Linked DNA regions of Homo sapiens: region 1 is linked to region 2. The links are contacts of gene promoters, found by promoter capture Hi-C in human tissues and cell types (Jung and others, 2019). All regions are on one chromosome and are shown on one strand. The core of a region is centred on a gene start or on the middle of the fragment in contact, and the rest is flanking DNA. Distances in the headings are between cores, read along the strand shown.

What was found. The method cuts DNA at HindIII sites, captures the fragments that hold promoters and counts their contacts. A contact is called where the count stands out against the background at its distance.
Region 1: a fragment that was not itself captured here is called in contact with the fragment with the promoter of GIP in region 2 in 3 of the 25 tissues and cell types used here (aorta, dorsolateral prefrontal cortex and spleen).

Annotation. Positions count from the first base shown.
Region 1 is chr17:48,739,450-48,742,503 of GRCh38, reverse strand. All of the region lies in intron 2 of LOC105371811 (a long non-coding RNA gene), which reads right to left. Among named protein-coding and RNA genes, the nearest start is that of HOXB13, 12 kb to the right of the region's middle. The HindIII fragment of the contact is 8,003 bases long and covers 1-3,054 here.
Region 2 is chr17:48,966,718-48,970,046 of GRCh38, reverse strand. GIP (gastric inhibitory polypeptide) reads left to right here and starts at 1,451. Exons shown (of 6, transcript NM_004123.3): 1 at 1,451-1,530; 2 at 2,794-2,900. The coding sequence starts at 2,815. RefSeq lists an enhancer at 2,864-3,329. The HindIII fragment of the contact is 44,226 bases long and covers 1-3,329 here.

The sequences.
Region 1 (3,054 bases), core at 85-2,584, 230 kb after region 2:
GAAGGATGTAGCTCTCCTGTCCATATCTGGCTGCCACAGCCAGAGGACAAGTGAGGAAGAAACCTGTAAGAATCAGTTGTTTGGTTCAACATAGAGCAGTCATCTTTTCTGAGGATGTCCAATACCTTTTGAGAACTGGGTTGGCCCAGGTTTTTAAATAAAGTAATGGCATGAAAAATGGATTGGGAGCAATTGTTATAGGTTATAAGACAGTTGAGAGACATCAAGCAAATGTAATGTATGAACTTTGTTTAGATCCTGACTTAAACTAACTGTAAAAAGACATTTTTGAGAAAACTTAGGAAATTCAAACATGGATAGTATTAAGGAATTATTCTCAATTTTGTCCTGTGTGACAATCACATAAAGGTTATATATAAAAAAAGCAAAAGAAGAGTGGCTTACGCCCATAATCCCAACACTTCAAAAGGCCAAGGTTGGAGGATCCCTTGAGGCCAGGAGTTTAGAGACCAGCCTGGGCAACAAGCGAGACCTTGTCTCTACAAAAAATAAAATAAAACTAGGCTGGGCGCAGTGGCTCATGCCTATAATCCCACCACTTTGGGAAGCCAAAGAGGCAGATCACTTGAACAAGGGAGTTTGAGACCCATCTGGGAACCCCCGTCTCGACCAAAAAAAAAAAAATGTACCCAGGCATGGTAGCACATGCCTGTAGTCCTGTAGTCCTAGGCGTGGGATCCCTTGAGCCCAGGAGTTCAAGGCTTCAGTGACACTGCACTCCTGCCTGGGTGACAGAGCAAGATCCATCTCTAAAAACAAAAAAAAATTTTTTTAAACCTGTTAAAGATTCAAACTGAAGAATTTTGGAACAAAAAAAAAGAAAAAAAAAGAAAAGAAGTCTGGGATTTGCTTTAAAATACTCCAGAAAGAAGGCTGAGCCCGGTGCTCATCATAACTTTGGGAGGCCAAGGTGGGTGGATCACGAGGTCAGGAGATGGAGACCATCCTGGCTAACAAGGTGAAACCCTGTCTCTACTAAAAATACAAAAAATTAGCCAGGTGTGGTGGTGGGCGCCTGTAGTCCCAGCTACTTGGGAGGCAGAGTGAGACTCTGTCTCAAAAAAACAAAACAAAACAAAACAAAACGAAACAAAAAACCTCCAGAAAGAAATGCAATAAGATGGGCTATGAGTTGATTATTGTTGAAGCTGAGTGATAGGTATGAGGGGTTGAATTACACTTTTTTGTTTACTTTTCTGTATCTGTAAAATTTGCCATTAGAAAACAAATCAATAGGCTGGGCACGGTGGCTCACACCTGTAATCCCAGCACTTTGGGAGGCTGTGGCGGGTGGATCACGAGGTCAGGGGTTCAAGACCAGCCTGACCAACATGGTGAAACCCTGTCTCTACTAAAAATACAAGAATTAGCCAGGCATGGTGATGTGTGCCTATAATCCCAACTACTCAGGAGGCTGAGGCAGGAGAATCGCTTGAACTCGGGAGGCGAAGGTTGCAGTGAGCCGAGATCACGCCACCACACTCCAGCCTGGGCAACAGAGCGAGACTCCGTCTCAAGAAAAAGAAAAGAATAAAGCAGTAGGCTCATGTCCTAAAAAACCACACATGTACACCAATGTTCACCCTCAATTTTAAAGGGTGAGGCTTTGAGAGCCACCCATAAAATCAAATTCAGAATCCTCAGTGCCCACCAAATACCCATTTTTTTCCCCCATAGAAGGGACAGGCTTGGAAGGTGTTTTGGCACCAGGTTGACCCAACCATGCTTGTTGACCCAAACATGACAGTTTTCTGCTGTCAGTGTGGGTAACAGAGCCATTAGAGGAGTTTGAGCCTCCCACAATTCAACTCTAGGTGAACATTTGCCAGGTATAGCTCCTTTGTTACTCATGTGGACTCAGCCTCCAAAGTAAAACAGGGTGGGAGGAATGGGGTGGGAGGAAGAGGACAGAAATTGGTTCCCACTTTTGTAGTTTTAGAAGTCATGGGGGGCACTGATAAAAAAGATGACAGTGTATTAAAGGGTTTTCTTCATTTTATTTCATTTTTTGAGACGGAGTCTCACTCTGTCACCCAAGCTGGAGTGCAGTGGCACGATCTTGGCTCACTGCAACCTCTGCCACCCGGGTTCAAGCAATTCTCCTGCCTTAGCCTCCCGAGTGGCTGGGACAACAGGCATATGCCACCACGCCCGGCTAATTTATTTATTTATTTATTTATTTTTGTAGAGATGGGGTTTCACCATGTTGGCCAGGCTGGACTTGAACTCCTGACCTCAAGGATCCACCTGCCTCGGCCTCCCAAAATGCTGAGATTATAGGCTTGAGCCACCACTCCCAGCCGGGTTTCTTTATTTTAGAGTTCATGTTTTGATTTTTCCAAATTCCTTAATTTTTCCCTTTTCCCTTTAATAATTTCCCAAATATCTTAAGTCTGTTTTTAGTATTAGTTTGAGATACTAATGAGATATAATGAAATTTATTTCCATTTTAAAATTTGTCATGGTCGGTTGCAGTGGCTCATGCCTGTCGTCCCAGCACTTTGGGAGGCTGAGGTGGAAGGGTCGCTTGAGCTCAGCAGTTTGAGACCAGCCTGGGTAACATGGCGAGACCTCGTCTCTATAAAAAATTTTAAAATTAGCTGGGCGTGGTGGTAAGTGCCTGTGGTCCCAGCTACTGAGGGGACTGAAGTGGGAGGATTGCTTGAGCTCGGGAGGTCGAGGCTGCAGTGAGTCGAGATCGCGCCAATGCACTCCAGGCTAGGTGAGGGAATGAGACCCTGTGTCAAAATAAAATAAAATAAAATAAAATAAAATAAAATAAAATAAAATAAAAATGTGTCAACGATTTGTGTTTGGAGAGGGAAGAGAAGTGAAAATATCAGAATCAGGATTTGGTGCCATAAAGCCTCGATTTGCCTCTAGAAGTTGGACAAATTATCTCCTAAACCTCAGCTTTCTTGTTTTCTTTTACTTTTTTGAGACTGGTTCTCCCTCTGTCTCCCTGGCTGGAGTGCAGCAGCGCAATCACGGCTCACTGCACCATCCAACTTCGGATTCAACAGAAATTCAGGG
Region 2 (3,329 bases), core at 202-2,701:
CTCTTTCTCCTGCTTTATCCTGCCCCTGAGCAGGAAGACAGCTTGAATGTATGTTCTCAGTTTATCCAGCTGTCCCTAGGAAACCCCGATCCTTCATATTCCCTCAACATTGAGCCCTTGGGACACCTCTCTAGATAATGTGATGGGGGCATTGCCACATCACCAAAGCCATAGGCCACTGTCCAGAGCTGGGATTCAGATGACTGTGGACCTACTCTCTCCCACCCAGAAGTAGCCTGTTGCCTTGTGGGAGTGTCCCCCTGCCAGTTAGTGCCACCCTACCCCAAGTCTGTCTTCACTACAAGTACCCTTTTTTATTTTTATTTTTATTTTTTGAGACAGAGTCTTGTTTTGTCACCCAGGCTGGAGTGCAGTGGCACGATCTTGGCTCACTACAACCTCTGCCTCCAGGTCTGGGTTCAAGCGATTCTCCTGCCTCAGCCTCCCAAGTAGCTGGGACTACAGGCACGTGCCACCATGCCTGGCTAATTTTTGTTTGTTTTTTTTTTTTTTGTTTGTTTGTTTGTTTTGAGATGGAGTCTCGCTCCGTCGCCCAGGCTGGCAGGCAGTGGCGCCATCTCGGCTCACTGCAACCTCCGCCTGCCGGGTTCACGCCATTCTCCTGCCTCAGCCTCCCGAGTAGCTGGGACTACAGGCACCTGCCAACATGCCCGGCTAATTTTTTGTGTTTTTAGTACAGACGGGGTTTCACTGTGTTAGCCAGGATGGTCTCGATCTCGTGACCTCGTGATCCACCCGCCTCGGCCTCCCAAAGTGCTGGGATTACAGGCGTGAGTCACTGCGCCCGGCCCCCTTTCTTTTTTCTTTTCTTTTTTTCTTTTTTGAGAGAGTCTCTCTTTGTTGCCCATGCTGGAGTGCAGTGAACTCGATCTTGGCTCACTGTAACTTCTGCCTCCCAGGTTCAAGTGATTCTCTTGCCTCAACCTCCCAAGTAGCTGGGATTACAGCCGTGCACGACCATGCCCAGCTAATTTTTGTATTTTTAGTAGAGACTGGGTTTCACCATGTTGGCCAGGCTGGTCTCGAACCCCTGACCTCAGGTGATCCGCCCGTGTCGTCCTCCCAAGCGCTGGGATTACAGACGTGATTCATCGCGCCTGGCCTACAAGTATCCCTTCTAACTGAGGGCAACTGTAAAGGAAGTAGGGCATAGAAGAATAGTAGTGGGCCCTGTGCCCAGAAGGGAGGAGGAGGAAGAAAAAAGGGGGTACTTAGGGTACCCTACCCACAGGCAGGCCCCAGACAGCAGCTGGAGATAGCCAAATGTTAATCACCAATTAGCACAGTTCAGGTGGAAAGGGCAACTCTATTATGTGTAAAATGGACTTAATGTGGCAGGAGCTGTGGGCTTAATTTCTTGAGATAAGATGCTTTTAGGCTAATCAGCAGGTCTATGCCTAATATAAAGGAGCTGGGGCATGATTTCTTCAGCAGGCTCAGAAGGTCCAGAAATCAGGGGAAGGAGACCCCTATCTGTCCTTCTTCTGGAAGAGCTGGAAAGGAAGTCTGGTAAGAGAAGTGGAGACAGGGATGGATGAGATGACCCGAGAGCAGATGGATCTTGGCAACCCTGAGATGCTCAGCAGCCCTGGCATCTTAGTTTTCTCTTCCTCTATATGAGATGTGAGAAGATAGTCAGGTGCGGTGCCTCATGCCTGTAATCCCAATACTTTGGGAGCCGAGGTAGGAGGATCATTTGAGCACAGGAGTTCAAGACCAGCCTGGGCAATGGAGGGAAACTCGATCTCTACACATAATTTAAAAAATTAGCTGGGCATGGTGGTACATGCCTGCGGTTCTAGGTACTCGGGAGGGTGAAGTGAAAGGTTTGCCTGAGCCCAGGAGGTCGAGGCTGCAGTGAGCCACGATTGTGTCACTGCACTCCAACCCGGGTGACAGAGCGAAACCCTGTCTCAAAAAAAGAGAAAGAGAAATGAGAAGGTAGCGCTGATGTTTCCTTTATTTATTTATTTAGAGATGGAGTCTCGCTCTGTCACCCAGGCTGGAGTGCACTGGCGCAATCTCGGCTCACTGCAACCTCTTCCTCCCAGGTTCAAGCGATTCTCATGCCTCAGCCTCCTGAATAGCTGGGATCACAGGCGCGCACCACCACACCTGGCTAATCTTTGTCTTTTATGTAGAGACAGGATTTCACCATATTGGCCAGGCTGGTCTCAAACTCCTGACCTCAAGTGATCCGCCCACCTGGGCCTCCCAAAGTGCTGGGATTGCAGGCATGAGCCACTGCACCCAGCCTGGTCCATCTTTTGGTAAGATTCCATGTCCCTTCTAGTCACTAACTCCAGTGCACAGCACCCCTCATCTTCCCCCATGGTGTTGCCCCAGGCTCTTAGAAAAGGTCCAAACTGGCAAGGCGCGATGGCTCACGCCTGTTATCCCAGCACTTTGGGAGGCCCAGGTGGGCAGATCACAAGGTCAGGAGTTCGAGACCAGCCTGGCCAATATGGTGAAACCCTGTCTCTACTAAAAATACAAAAATTAGCCGGGAGTGGTGGCACATGCCTGTAGTCCAGGCTACTCGAGAGGCTGAGGCAGAAGAATGGCTTGAACCCAGGAGGTGGAGGTTGCAGTGAGCCAAGATTGTGCCACTGCACTCCCACCTGGACGACAGAGCGAGACTCCATCTCAAAAAAAAAAAAAAAAAAGAAAAAGGAAAAGAAAGGGTCCAAACCTCAGGGCTTTGCCCCTCTCCAGCTTTCAGAACCCCTACTGGTTGCTCTCTCAACATGTCCTGGCTTTTTTCTGTCTTAGCTCAGGAAATAACCTTGGAAGATGGTGGCCACGAAGACCTTTGCTCTGCTGCTGCTGTCCCTGTTCCTGGCAGTGGGACTAGGAGAGAAGAAAGAGGGTCACTTCAGGTAGGAGTGGTGAGAGGAAAGGGATGGGGCAGAGGAGGGGTTAGGGGATGACAGGTTCTGGATTTGTTTCTAGGGGGAGATGAGAAAGGGAAGGAATCCAGGCTAAGAGGTAGGAAGCTCCAGGGAAATACCTGCCGGCAGCGTGAGTGCAAAGTGAGCACTGAGCCAGAGAGGATTTATTGTGTGCTGCTGTTACAGTGGGAGAGACTATGGTTAGATCTCTGGCGGGACTTCCTGGTGGTTAATTGTCCGAAGATGACAGAATCTCCCTTCCCAATAAATGTTTTATTCATTTATGCATGTTTGCTTCTTTCTTTTCTTTTTTTCTTTTTTCTTTTTTTGAGACAGGATCTTGCCCTGTCGCCCAGGCTGGAGTGCAGTGGCGTGATCGCAGCTCACTGCAGCCTCTGCCTGCCAGGCTCAAGCATC